Regions from separate parts of the Homo sapiens genome. Here region 1 is linked to region 2. The links are contacts of gene promoters, found by promoter capture Hi-C in human tissues and cell types (Jung and others, 2019). All regions are on one chromosome and are shown on one strand. Each heading gives the region's core, a stretch centred on a gene start or on the middle of the fragment in contact. The rest is flanking DNA. Distances are from core to core; before and after follow the strand shown.

What was found. Contacts are between HindIII fragments. The study calls those that stand out against the background at their distance.
Region 1: a contact is called between the fragment with the promoter of IFNA13 here and the fragment with the promoter of IFNA5 in region 2, in 1 of the 25 tissues and cell types used here (neural progenitor cells).

The regions. Positions count from the first base shown.
Region 1 is chr9:21,366,114-21,373,559 of GRCh38, reverse strand. It overlaps IFNA13 (interferon alpha 13), which reads left to right and starts at 5,503. Exons shown (of 1, transcript NM_006900.4): 1 at 5,503-6,188. The coding sequence starts at 5,550. The coding sequence ends at 6,122. The HindIII fragment of the contact is 15,253 bases long and covers 1-7,446 here.
Region 2 is chr9:21,301,634-21,309,373 of GRCh38, reverse strand. IFNA5 (interferon alpha 5) reads left to right here and starts at 4,061. Exons shown (of 1, transcript NM_002169.3): 1 at 4,061-5,048. The coding sequence starts at 4,118. The coding sequence ends at 4,687. All of the region lies in intron 2 of LOC107987053 (a long non-coding RNA gene), which reads right to left. The HindIII fragment of the contact is 6,884 bases long and covers 1-6,741 here.

The sequences.
Region 1 (7,446 bases), core at 4,254-6,753, 63 kb before region 2:
CACACTCTGGGGACTGTTGGTGGGTGGGGGGAGGGGGGAGGAATAGCTTTAGGAGATATACCTAATGCTAAATGACGAGTTAATGGGTGCTGCACACCCGCATGGAACATGTATACCTATGTAACTAACCTGCGCATTGTGCACATGTACCCTAAAACTTAAAGTATAATAATAATAAAAAAAAGAGAAGAGAAAAAAAATTACTGTGATGTTTTAATATACATCAACAAATTCTTGTATACATTGTTCTCTATGTAATTATCCTCCCTTTAATGTGGGCTCATATTCGTGATATGTTTCTGACACAAGCAGTATGGAAAGGGACAAATAGTAATTTTACATAGGAGAAACCTGGCAGACAACAACTTAACCAAGTGATTCATTTAATATCAGCAGCAATAAGTTATTGATATTGTATGCTTCCTATATTATTCGATGTAATGAGCATGTACTCCATTGTATTCATCCATTAAATCTATAATGTAACCATGAGAAAATTCCACACATCCAAATTGAGGAACATCCTACAAAGTAACTGACCAATATTCTTTAATAGTCCCCAGGTCATGAAAGTCAGGAAAGACTCAGCCCATGTTATAGATGAGAGGAGAATAAAGAGATGTGACAATGAAATGTAATATGGGACCCTGGATTGAATCTTAAATCAGAAAAAGGACATCAGTCAAAAAGTTAAGGAAATCACAATGAAGCCTGAAGTTTAGCAAATTTTTTCTTTGTTTGTTTTTTCTTTTTTTTTTTTTTTTTTTTTCGAGACGGAATCTCGCACTGCCGCCGAGGCTGGAGGTCAGCGGCGCGATCTCAGCTCACTGCAACCTCAGTCTCCCGGGTTCAAGCGATCCTCCTGTCTCAGCCTCTGAGTAGCTGGGACGACAGGCAGGAGCCAACAAGCCCAGCTAATTTTTGTATTTTTAGTAGAGACAAGGTTTCATAGTGTTGGCCAGGATGGTGTCAATCTCTTGACCTCGATCCACCCGCCTTGGCCGCCCAAAGTGCTGGGATTACAGGTGTAAGCCACCAGTGACTGGCCAAGTTTAGCAAATATTAATGCACCACTTTTAATTTCTTAGTTTTGATCATTGTTTCATGGCTATGTAAGTTGTTAACATTAGGAGAAGCTGAGTGAAGGGAAGAGAACTCCCTGTACTATCTTTGCAACTCTCTATAGGTCTAGAATTGTTTCGAAATACAAGATAAAAATGAATCGGCTTCCAGAATTTTTAACATTACTGATTAAAATTTTAAAAATATTTATTTCACTGATTAAAATCTTTCATTAAATGGTATTGTTTTCAAAAGACATAAAATTTAATCTCCCTTGTAACTGTTTAGCAGACAGTTCTGTCTCTTACCCCTTAAGGTTCTGACAATGACTCTGTCCTTTGCCAAACTTTAGTCAGTCTCCTCCAAACTCTCTCGTTGACTGGCTCGTGCCTTTGGGTCCATTCTTAGGTCTGCCAAGTCCAGTTGTAGCAGGAATCTTACTAAGTTAGTTTTATGAGAATGCTTCCACGCTTGATAGCTGATTTACCCTTGATATATGATCAAATTGTTCATCCCACACACTCAATATGTAATTACCCTGGCTTGCCTTTAGAAAGAATTATGTTCAGCTTAGGAAGGATCCCCCTGCCTTTGATGTCTCCTTTTACTGATTTTCTATCTGACCCCTCATTCTGCTTGTTGGGTATAAACCCCAGGCTCTCTTTGCTGATTTTTGAGCTGAGCACCAATTGGTCTCTCTCCCCTATTGATATGGTTTGGGTCAGCATCCCCTTCCAAATCTCACATGGAATTGTAATCTCCAGTGTTGGAGGCGGGGCCTGGTGGGAGGTGATTGGATCATAGGGCGGTTCCTCACGGTTTAACACCATCCCCCTGGTGGTGTCATGGTAAGAGTGAGTTATTCCAAGATCTGGTTGTTTAAAATTGTGCAGCACCTCCCCTGCTTCTCTCCTCCTGCTCCAGTCATGCAGGACATGCCTGCTTCCCCTTAGCCTTCTGCCATGATTGTAAGTGTCCTGAGGCCTCCGTAGCCATGCTTCCTGTATGGTCTGCAGAATCATGAGCCAATTAAACCTCTTTTCTTTCTAAGTTACCCAGTCTCAGGTTTTTCTGTATAGTAGTGCAAGAACTAATACACCTATTGTGATAGTTTTGACGCCTGTTGCAATACTTCTGAATAAGTCTTCTTTACTGTTATACCAAGTGTCAGCATAAATTTTTCTTTACCAGATCCTTAAATTAAGGCAGTACAATCAACACTGCAGCACACTCTGGTGACCTGCAACATAAAAAGCATCAACCAGCTGGCAAGTCAGGTGACTCAGGGTCTTTTGTCATCTCAGTCCTCATTCTCTAATGCCATGGACTATCCTAATTTCTCTAGAAGTGTTTCCATTTCCACACCTTTAATAATCCCTTTAGTCAACCTTTCCAGGTGTGCTCTCCCTGAGCTCTGAGCCTTAGTTCCTTGGTTTAGTTCTGATTTAGTTCATGTCTCTAGCCTGACAGTGACTCGTTCTTTCTTAAATTTGTGCTACACATGGGGAAATCTAAAGTATTGTGGATATTTGATTAAAAGAATAGTACTATGTAGAATTTTAAATTGACAGAAATATAAAGGGTTGATGAATATATTCACTGGGGTGAACAATATGTTTTACAAATATGTTCATGCTTATGATGGTGTATCCTCAAGAAGACAAAACTAGAATATAATGTGAAAGTAAAGTGGGGCCCAATTTAATTGTAATGTAACATGTTGGCATGGACAAATGGGGCATTTCAATGAAGAAGACAAATGGAAACTGAAGAGAAAGACCCTGTCATTACATAGTAAGGACTCTACTAGGAAAACATTGATTGTCCTAGAAATCAGCTCTGGTTCTTTTGTCCAGAAATAGTCCCAGAGAGCATGTAAGAAGTAAGACTTCAGAGCTGAATTTTCTCCATCCAAACTGTGGCTCCACAACTTAATAGCTCCCTGGGATTTCATTTTTTTTCTTTTGCATATGGGGATAATAGTAAAATCTATCACTGTGTGCTTTGGTCAGTGATATATCTAGTGAATAAATGGGGCTAGGTACATGGTAGACGTTCAGTAAATATGAAAAATGGATATTCTTTATTGATTAAGTAAGCATTGATTATGCAAGTGCTAAAAACAGTGTCTGACTGAAAATAAATAAAGACTTTCCACAATTTAGATATTTCATTCCTTCTTTTTTTAAGACGGAATTTCAATCTTGTTGCCTGGGCTGGGGTGCAAGTGGAGTGCAAAGGCATGATCTCAGCTCACTGCAACCTCCACCTCCTGGGTTTAAGCAATTCTTCTGCTTCAGCTGGGATTACAGGCATGTGCCACCACACCAGACTAATTTTGTATTTTTAGTAGAGACGGTGTTTCAAAATGTTAGTCAGGCTAGTCTCAAACTCCTGACCTCAGGTGATCTGCCCAGCTCGGCCTCCCAAAGTGCTGGGATTACAGGCGTAAGCCACCGCACCCGGCCTGATATTTCATTTCTCTTATTAACATTATCTTTATTATATAACTCTATTAAAAGTTAGGGAAGTGTCCTCTGAAATTATCAATTCTCTTGTTTCTTACTAGAAATATAAGAAGAAAAAAACTGACCTTCTAAGTTTACTTATCCAATAGTGGAGAGCTTGGTGCAATGAACACTGACCCATTTTCCAGAGAGAATATTGTACTCTCAAAAATTTCTCTTTCTTGTGTATAAACTCTTGCAGTTGGTATATTTGCAAGATGGGGTTCGGTAAATCTGAAAACACACTGTGGACCAGGAGTAATTACTTTTCTTCCAGCCCATACTTACGTGTTACCTTGACCTACATCCCTTCTACTATTTTGCTTCTGTTCTTTCCCACCCCTTAACCTCCACTATGTTGGTCAGGCTGGTCTCAAACTCCCAACCTCAGATGATCCGTCTGCCTCGGCCTCTCAAAGTGCTGGCATTACACATGTGAGCCACGACGCCCGGCCACTTGTGTTATCTTTTTGTTCCCATTAGTTAGGATGCAAAAAGTGACAACTTTTGCTTTCTATGAAAATGAAATGAGAAAGAAAGATATCTGGTGTCTGGCATGCTATGTAAAACAATTGTCTACTTATTTATGTTATTATATTTACATCCTATTATGCGCATCTAGGACAAAGATAGTTTCCTTTAGTTTGCTAGGAATCAGCAAAGAACCTCTGAAGGCACCTTGGAAATTTGAACTTTCATGCAAAAAATTTTTAATCAAATCGAGGATGTTTTTTCAATTGTGTATTCTCATTGCATATGATACTACTCCCAAGGATGTAGAAGTTAGTTCTTGGGAGTGGGAACAAATCTTACATATTTAAATGGTTTGTGGCCCTTCAAAGCTCAACCTATTTAACAAAATCTTATTCCTTAGTTTTTTTTTTTTTCTCTCCATTGGGTTTTCTTGTGTATCACATGAGAAGCACTGACATTGAGTTCATGGAAGATACACAAAAGGTATAAAAGTTCAGCATTACAAACCTATGGCAAATGGGTAGCTGTGATTGGAGTACTTTCCAAGATGTATTAGATCTCAAAGTCATATCATGAGAGGTGTCCTCTGCATACATATGGTTTGTCACTGGCCATCTTATAGATATTGCTTATGTTTGATCCTTAGCATTTCTGTCTGTGTTGTGGGCTTTGAAATGAAATATAAATAATTTATATTTTAACAATTCTACTGAAGTTGTTCAACACATCTATATTTAGGTCAAGAATTGAAGAAAAAATTCTTCACACTCTCTAGGTGAGTATCTAGCAGCTAGTGAAGTTAAAAATTTTCTCACATGCAACAAAATTAAAAGTTAAGTATAATAAAAATAAATGATAAAAATATTTTAAATTATTAAGTCTTTATCAGTTTCAAATAATTCATAAACATTCATTACTTAGCTGTATAATGTTTATCTAGAAACATTAGATAATGTTTATAATTTGTTAAATTTCTTATGTAATTTAATACATTACAATTTATATCAGTAAATAAACTATATTGAAGCCCACAAGCAAATTTAGTTATAAAGTTAAGTTAAATTTGAATAGCGTTTAAATTTAACTTTTATCTTAAAATTTTCATTTGGTTATTTTTAAACTTGCATTGAATAAAATGATTAAACTTTGTACTTTTTGAGTATAGAGATATACATATAGTACACAAATAGATAGATATTATATCTGTGTTATTAAATTTTCACGGTGGGTTCAATTAGGAAAAAAAATCTAAAAAGTCTCTGGGAACAAGATGGGGGAGACAATAATGAAAAACAAAATGGTTGAGAAACACGGCTCTAAACTCATGTAAAGAGTTCAAGAAGGAAAGCAAAAACAGAAATGGAAAGTGGTCCAGAAGCATTAAGAAAGTGGAAATCAGTATGTTCCCTATTTAAGGCATCTGCAGGAAGCAAAGCCTTCAGAGAACCTAGAGCCCAAGGTTCAGAGTCACCCATCTCAGCAAGCCCAGAAGCATCTGCAATATCTATGATGGCCTCGCCCTTTGCTTTACTGATGGCCCTGGTGGTGCTCAGCTGCAAGTCAAGCTGCTCTCTGGGCTGTGATCTCCCTGAGACCCACAGCCTGGATAACAGGAGGACCTTGATGCTCCTGGCACAAATGAGCAGAATCTCTCCTTCCTCCTGTCTGATGGACAGACATGACTTTGGATTTCCCCAGGAGGAGTTTGATGGCAACCAGTTCCAGAAGGCTCCAGCCATCTCTGTCCTCCATGAGCTGATCCAGCAGATCTTCAACCTCTTTACCACAAAAGATTCATCTGCTGCTTGGGATGAGGACCTCCTAGACAAATTCTGCACCGAACTCTACCAGCAGCTGAATGACTTGGAAGCCTGTGTGATGCAGGAGGAGAGGGTGGGAGAAACTCCCCTGATGAATGCGGACTCCATCTTGGCTGTGAAGAAATACTTCCGAAGAATCACTCTCTATCTGACAGAGAAGAAATACAGCCCTTGTGCCTGGGAGGTTGTCAGAGCAGAAATCATGAGATCCCTCTCTTTATCAACAAACTTGCAAGAAAGATTAAGGAGGAAGGAATAACACCTGGTCCAACATGAAACAATTCTTATTGACTCATATACCAGGTCACGCTTTCATGAATTCTGCCATTTCAAAGACTCTCACTTCTGCTATAACTATGACCATGCTGATAAACTGATTTATCTATTTAAATATTTATTTAGCTATTCATAAGATTTAAATTATTTTTGTTCATATAACATCATGTGCATCTTTACACTGTGGTTAGTGTAATAAAACATGTTCCTTATATCTACTCAATTCATTATTTTATGTTGTTCATTAAACTTTTACTATAGGAACTTCCTGTATGTGTTCATTCTTTAATACAAAATTCCTAGCCTGACTGTGCAACCTGATGAGAGAATAAAGGGTATAATTTATTTACTCATCATTATTATATGAGAGATGTAAGTAAAAATGACCTTTCTCTAAACCAGGTTGTATGTTGTACTCAAGTTATAAAGGTGAATACAATAAATCTACTTCCTACTCTCTTGCATGTTTGATTTTTGTATGGAATAAAACTAAAAATAGTAATCATACTTAGTATCAGTTATCCTGAATACTATAAGGAGAAAAAGGAATGAACAATGATTTCTTTCGGCAGGAGGTAAACTGAAACATGTGAGGAAATAAAAATAAACAGATATCCTCTATAAGTTGACTGATACAACATGTGGTAGAAACTGTCTATTGCCAGTTGGATATGTGAGTTTGCAAATTATAAGGAATGCAATTGCTGGGAGTTCATATGTGGCAAGCAAAATCCCAGAAATGAAAGTGCTCATGTGTGGAGAGAGTGTAGACAGAGAAAAGGACTTAAACGTGATTCTAAGGACCTTCCACCTTTAAAGGGAAGGAAGAGAAGAGCCACAAAGGAAACAGAGGGATGGACAAATAGAGACAATGGTGATTAATATGGTCTGGAACTGTGTCTCTGCCTAAATCTCAGGCAGACCAGCCTCTAGAATGTATGTGTGTGTGTGTGTGTGTGTGTATGTGTGTGTGTGTGTATATATATACGTACATATATATATATACGTATATATATGTATATATATACACACACACACACATACACACACACACTATATATATATTTTATATATAGTGTATATATATAAAACATATGTATATATGCTTATTTTCTTATTTTATAAATATATGGTTATTATTTTCTTAATTAGTGCATATATATCAGAAAAGGGACTGGGTGCAGTGGCTCATGTTTGTAATCTCAGCACTTTGGAAGCCAAGGTGGGTGGATCACTTGAGTTCAGGGGTTCAAGACCAGCCTGGACAATATGGTGAAACCCTGTCTCTACTAAAAACCAAAAATTTG
Region 2 (7,740 bases), core at 2,812-5,311:
ATACCCAGATGGTAGAGAGAGCCTATGTAATGCATGCAGGGTATAATGCAACCTAGGATCAGGGCTGAAAACTTTTCACCTGACACAGAAAAGAAGAATATTTGTATGAAAAAAGTATATAAGTATTTACATTCCTACATACACTTCAGCCTTTATGACAATGACTGTTCTCATTTAATTGATAAATGTACATTTAGATTGGCACACCTGAAGTTTACTGTGCAAATTCTATTGCAAAAATTAAGGGTCTCAATTGATGTTGTGTTTTTAAGCCTAATATGCAATATGTAAATGAAAACAAAAAGTAGACATATAGAGAAATGTTCAGAAAATAAAAACTAGATGTCCCCTATTGAAAGCCATGCATAGAAATAATGTCTTCAGAGAACCTAGGTTCCAAAGTTCAACCAGACCCCAGCTCAGCCAGGCCTGCAGAACCCTCATTTCCCAATGGCCCTCCCAATGGCCATATTTCTTATTGATTTTCCATCCACAGATCCTGTCATTCTGCTTGTTGGTTACAAATCCCAGGCTGTCTGTGTCATATTCAGAGTTGAGCCCAGATTGATCTCTCTCCCCTATTGTGATAGTTTTGACATCTGTCGCAATAGTCCTAAATAAAGTCTTCATTACTGTAATACCAAGTGTTAGCATAATTTTTTCTCTACCAGTTTCTCAATGTAAGCCAGCACAATCATCACAGTAGCAAACTCTGCTGACCTACAACATAAAAGGCATCAGCCAGCTGGAAAGTCAGGTAACTCAGAACCTTTTGTCATTGCAGTCCTCCTCCTCTAATGCCCTGGACTCTCTACATTTCTCCAGAAGTGCTTCCCATTTGCACACCTCCAATCCTATTAGGCAGCCCTTCCAGAGGGTTTTTTTCCTGATCTCTGAGCCTTAGCTTATTGGTTTATTTCTGATTTAGATCATATTTATATCCCGATCATGGCTTAGTCTTACTTAGGTTTGCACTAAACTGGTAGAAATCTAAAGTATTATGGATATTTGAATAAATGAGTAGATATACATAGGGTTTCAAAGAGTTGCTTATGATGAACCAAGTATTTTACAAATACATTCAAGCTTATGGAAATACATTCTCAAGAAGAAAAAACTAGAATATAGTGTGTAAGTAAAATGGGGTCTAATTTAATTGTAATGTAACATGTTGGCAAAAGCAAATGGGACGTTTCAGTAAAAAAGAACAGCTGAAGAGAAAGACCCTGTCATTACTTAGGCAGGACTCTCCTGGGAAAACACTGACCAATGCAGAAATCAGTTCTTATGACCAGAAATATTCCCAAAGACCATGTAAGAGCTGAGGATTTAGAGTCCAATTTTGGGGTTTAAATAGTAGCCTCAAATTCAATACCTCACTGTTCTTCTGTTTTTTCTTTTGTAAATAGGAATAATAGTAGAACCTATCAGTCTTCTTTGGTCACTGATATCTCCAGTGAATAAATGGTGGGTAGGTATATGGTAGGGGTTCAGTTAATACAAAAAGAGGATATTCATTATTGGTAAAATGAGAATCAAATCTGTAAGTTCTAAGAACAATATCTGACTGAAAATAAACACCTTCATCAATTTACCTGTCTCCTTCCTTTTTTAAACATTATCTTCATTATTAAACTTTATTAAATTGGGGGAAGTGTCCTTTAAAATTGTTAACTCCCTTGATTCCTGTAAAAAACATAATAAGGGAAATATTGATCTCTTGAATGTATTTATACACTAAGGGAGAACTTGAGAATTAACACTTACTCATTATGCAAAGAGTACATGGTACTCTTTTAAAAATTGCCCTTTTTTTATGTACAAATTCTTGCGATTGGTGTGACTCCATGAAGGCTGGATTCAGCAAAGCTGAAAACACTGCGTGGACCAGGAATGATTACTCTTTTTTTTCAGCTCATACCCATTTGTTCCCTTTGATCTACATATCTTCTACGATTTTGCTTCTCCTCTTCCCCATTCCTTTATCTCCTTCTTTACTGGGATGAATGTAGGAAAGTTGCATTTTGTCATCCTTTTTTTCCCAGTGAGATATTGTCTCTCTAGAGGATATTGTCACTCTAGAGAAAAGGGTGTTACTGACTGTGATAACTGCCTTGTGAGTGAGATGGTGCTGGGGAAAATAAAACTAACAAATTAACTTAGGATTAGAATCTCCTAGCCCAAGTGACCAGAAAAGAATCAGGATTCTTTTATCACATTTAGATACACATTTGTTTTCTTTCTATCTCCATTCTGTAGGATTTTTAAAATCACATTTAGATATACATTTTTCTTTTTGTCTCCATTCTTAAGGATTCAAAAAGAGACAACCTTTACTTTCAATGAAAATGAAAATGAGAAAGAAAGATCTCTGGTATCCTGCATGCTATGTAAACAATTGTACAACCCATTCATGCTATCACATTTACATTACACTATGGACATTTAGGACAAAAATGGTTTTCTTCAGTTTGAGGAGAATCAACTAGAATTGGAACCTCTGTGGGTTCTTTGGAAATCTGACCTTTCATGACAAATAATATTTTTAAAATCAAATTGATGACATTTTTCTCCATTGCATATACTCATTAAGTATAATATTGCTTCCAAGAATGTAAAAGTTATTTCTTGGGGCCCTCTAAAGTTCAACTCTGTCTGACAAAACTTTATTCCTTAGTATTTTTTTAATTGAGTTCTTGTTGTTGTTGTTTGTTTGTTTGCTTGCTTTTTGAGGCGGAGTCTCGCTCTGTTGCCAGGCTGGAGTGCAGTGGGGTGGTCTCGGCTCACTGCAACCTCCGACTCCCTGGTTCAAGCAATTCTCCTGCCTCAGCCTCCCGAGTAGCTGGGATTACAGGCACGTGCCACCACGCCCAGCTAATTTTTGTATTTTTAGTAGAGACGGGCTTTCACCATGTTGTCCAGGAGGGTCTTGATCTCCTGACCTTGTAATCCACCCACCTCAGCCTCCCAAAGTGCTGGGATTACAGATGTGAGCCACCGCGCCTGGCCTAATTTGGTTTTCTTGTAACATCAGAAGCATTGACCTTGAGTTCATGGAAGATACACAAAAGGTATACAAGATCAGTGCTACAAGCATATGGCAAATGGGTGGCTGTTATTGGAGGACTTTCCAAGATTTATTAGATGTCAAAGTCATATCATGTGAGGTGGCCTCTGTATACATATGAGCTGTCATTTGCTGTCTTGTGTATGTTGCTTATATTTGATCCTGAGCATTTATGACTGTGTTTTGAGTTTTGAGGTTTCAATAAAAATACTTTATCTTTTACTATTTAATTCTACTAAAGTTGTTCAACACATCAATAATTATGTCAAGCACTGAAGAGAAAAAGGTTTTTGACAATATCTAGATCAATATCTAGAAGCTAGTGAATTTTTTAAATTTCCCTATGAAGCAAAATTGAAAGTACCCTAAAAATAAATGTTACAAATAATTTCAATTTTAATAGTCTTTAGCTATTTTGAATTTTTAAATATTTCATTATACTAGGCAATATTATATATTTTCATAATTTGTTAATTTACTTATTTAATCTGACACACTACAATTTATATAAGTAAATAAATCACATTGTTACTTAAACAAATTGAACTATGAAGTTAAATATCCATAAATTGTAAATTTAATTATTAACTTTTACCTTAGAATTTTCATTTGCTCATTCTTAATCCGGGACTGAATAAATTCTATTTTACATTCTATTACGCTGCTTTTAAAGCATTAAAGAAGTACAATATTCTCTCTCGATAATGGGTACTGTAATGTATATACATCAGCCAACACATAGTATATCTGTGTTATTAAAATTTAATGGGATTTTTAGTTAGAAAAAAAATTTCTAAAAAGCATATGTGGCAGAGGAAGATGAGGTAATAATGTAAAAATAAATAAACTGAGAAACACTCCTGTACATCTATGTAGAAAGAGCATAAAAGAAAGCAAAAAGAGAAGTAGAAAGTAACACAAGGCATTCAGAAAATGGAAACTCGTATGTGACCTTTTTAAGATCTGTGCACAAAACAAGGTCTTCAGAGAAGAGCCCAAGGTTCAGGGTCACTCAATCTCAACAGCCCAGAAGCATCTGCAACCTCCCCAATGGCCTTGCCCTTTGTTTTACTGATGGCCCTGGTGGTGCTCAACTGCAAGTCAATCTGTTCTCTGGGCTGTGATCTGCCTCAGACCCACAGCCTGAGTAACAGGAGGACTTTGATGATAATGGCACAAATGGGAAGAATCTCTCCTTTCTCCTGCCTGAAGGACAGACATGACTTTGGATTTCCTCAGGAGGAGTTTGATGGCAACCAGTTCCAGAAGGCTCAAGCCATCTCTGTCCTCCATGAGATGATCCAGCAGACCTTCAATCTCTTCAGCACAAAGGACTCATCTGCTACTTGGGATGAGACACTTCTAGACAAATTCTACACTGAACTTTACCAGCAGCTGAATGACCTGGAAGCCTGTATGATGCAGGAGGTTGGAGTGGAAGACACTCCTCTGATGAATGTGGACTCTATCCTGACTGTGAGAAAATACTTTCAAAGAATCACCCTCTATCTGACAGAGAAGAAATACAGCCCTTGTGCATGGGAGGTTGTCAGAGCAGAAATCATGAGATCCTTCTCTTTATCAGCAAACTTGCAAGAAAGATTAAGGAGGAAGGAATGAAAACTGGTTCAACATCGAAATGATTCTCATTGACTAGTACACCATTTCACACTTCTTGAGTTCTGCCGTTTCAAATATTAATTTCTGCTATATCCATGACTTGAGTTGAATCAAAATTTTCAAACGTTTCACACGTGTTAAGCAACACTTCTTTAGCTCCACAGGGACAAAATCTTTACAGATGATCATGCCAATCTATCTATTCTATCTATTTATCTATCTGTCTGTCTTCTATCTAATCTATTTAAATATTTATTTATTTATAAGATTTAAATTATTTTAAATTATGTTTGTTCAGGTAATATTACATCCACCTTTACTTTGTGGCTAATATAATAAAATATGTTCTTTATGTTTTGTCAACTGATTATTTTGCTTTGTTCATTAGATTTTTACTATTAATTGTTTGTTTATTCTTTAAAATGAAACTCCAAGCCTGATTGTATAACTTGATTAAAAACAGATGGTACAGTTCAGTTACCTATCATTATTTTATTCAAATTTTAAGTAAAGGAAGATTTTTCTTAAGTGAACATAATAAATACAATTCCTGTTCCCTTGTATCTTTGATTTTTGCCAGAAATTTAACAACAATAATTATGATTAATATGAGTTATGTTAAATGCTATAATGTGAGCTAGGAAAAAAAACAGTGAATTGCTCTCAGCAGAACGCAGATAGAGGCACGTCCAGAAAGAAAAATAAAAGCAGAGCTAGCCTCTCTAAACTGACTTTTAAACATGTAATTGCGAATGTGCATTGCTAGTCAGATACATGAGTTTGCAATATCCAAGGAATACAATGTCTGGAGGATCATAACTGGCAACCAAATGCCTAAAAATGGAGGCTGTCATGTGAGGAGCCAATGTAGAGAAGAAAATAAGACTTAAACTAGATTCTGAGGACCTTCCACCATTAAAGAGAGGGAAGAGGAGAGACACAAAGGAAACAGAGGTGGAATACCTTAAACATTAGAAGGACAAGAGGGAATGATGATAAAAATGTATTTAGAAAATAAATGTACTTAGAAGAAGAATCAATAGACTTATGGGAAATGTGGATTAAAACTGCCCAGAACATCAGAAAAATAGATGGCGGTGGAGATCTTGGTGAGAGCTGGATTGGCAGAATTAATCAGTACAAACCATACTGGAGTAGGTGGAAGAGTGAATCAGAGAAGAGAAATCAGTGATAACCATATGTAGGAAATAATTGTGACATGTTTGCCATGGAAATGGAGGGGGGAAATAAGGTTGGACTTGAAAAAGAATGTGTACTATTTTTTATCTACATAGTTTTTCTTTTTTGAAAATAGAGTTCGTGGATTCAATCTATTGGCAAGTCATGTTAATATGTTTAATATTTTATGTATTTAAATCATAATATTATTTGCATAATAATTTATTATTATTTTGATTAATACTATGTTACATGTCAGGAAAAAATGACAAACTTCCCTCATGAAATAAAATGGGAAACTGGATGAGAGAATCTCTTTATACTTTTGGCCAAAACCAGCTGAAAATACGTGAACCAAAGAGAAATTCAGAGTGCGGCAGAGAGTTGCATATAACTCAGTAGTAAGAGGAGATGTAATAATTATTACAGAAATCCTGAATACAAAGCTTATACCTCAGGTGTAAATAAAAATAAAGAATTTTACATTGAAATTACATTCTGCTTACATGTAAGCGTGATGTTCAGAAAACCACTTAATCTCTCTGAGCCTCAGTTTTCTTTTGAAAATATACTTTCTACATTAAAAAAGCAATACATATCACTGTTATTTTCTTTTAAACTTTTATTTTAGGTTCAGGGGTAGATGTGTAGGTTTGCTATATAGATAAATTACATGTCACAGACATTTGGAGTATGAATTATTTCATCACCTAGGTTATAAGCATAGTACACAATAGGTAGTTTATCAATTCTCATTCTCATCCCACCCTCCACCTTCAAGTAGGCCCCTGTGTCTGTTGCTCCTTTTTTTGTGTCCATATATACTTAATATTTGGCTCCCACTTATAAGTGAGAACATCCAGTATTTGATTTTCTGTTCCTGAATTAGTTTGCTTAGGATAATGGCCTCCACCTCCATCCAAGTTCCCATAGAAGACAAGATCTTGTTCTTTTTTGACTGCATAGTATTCCATGGTATATATGTACTGCATTTAGGATTTGGCTCTCAGCTTGACTGTTGTTGGTGTATGGGAATGCTAGTAATTTTTGTGCATTGATTTTGTATCCTGAAACTTTGCTGAAGTTGTGTATCAGCTCGAGGAGCTTTTGGGCAGAGAATATGGGGTTTTCTATATAGAGAATTATACCATCTGTGAACAAGGATAATTTGACTTCTCTTCCTATTTGGATGTCCTTTATTTCTTTCTCTTGCCTGATTACTCCAGCCAGGACTTCCAGTACTATGTTGAATAGTACTGGTGAGAGAGGACATTCTTGTCTTGTGCCAGTTTTCAAGGGGAAAGCTTCCAGGTTTGCCTATTCAATATGATGTTGATTGTGGGTTTGTCATAGATGGCTCTTATTATATTGAGGTATATTCTTTCAATACTTAGTTTATTGAGAATTTTTAATGTGAAGAGGTGTTGAATTTTATCAAAAGCCTTTTCTGCATCTATTGAGATAATAATATATTTTTCTCTTTAGTTCTGTTTATTTGATGAATCACATTTATTGATTTGTGTATTTTGAAACAACCTTGCATCCCAGAGATAAAGCCTATTTAATTGTGGTGGGTTAGCTTTTTGATGTGCTGTATTTCATTTGCTAGTATCTTTTTTAAGGATTTTTACATCAGTGTTCATCAAGGATATTGACCTGAAGTTTTCCTTTTCTTGTTGTATCTCTGGCCAGTTTTGGTGTCAGGATGATGGTGACCACATAGAATAAGTTAGGAAGGAGTGCTTCCTCCTCAATTTGTTGGAATCGTTTCAGTAGAAATATTACCAGGTCTTTTTTGTACATCTGGTAGAATGTATCTGTGAATTCATCTGGTCTTGCCTTTTTCTGATTTGTAGGCTTTGTATTACCAATTC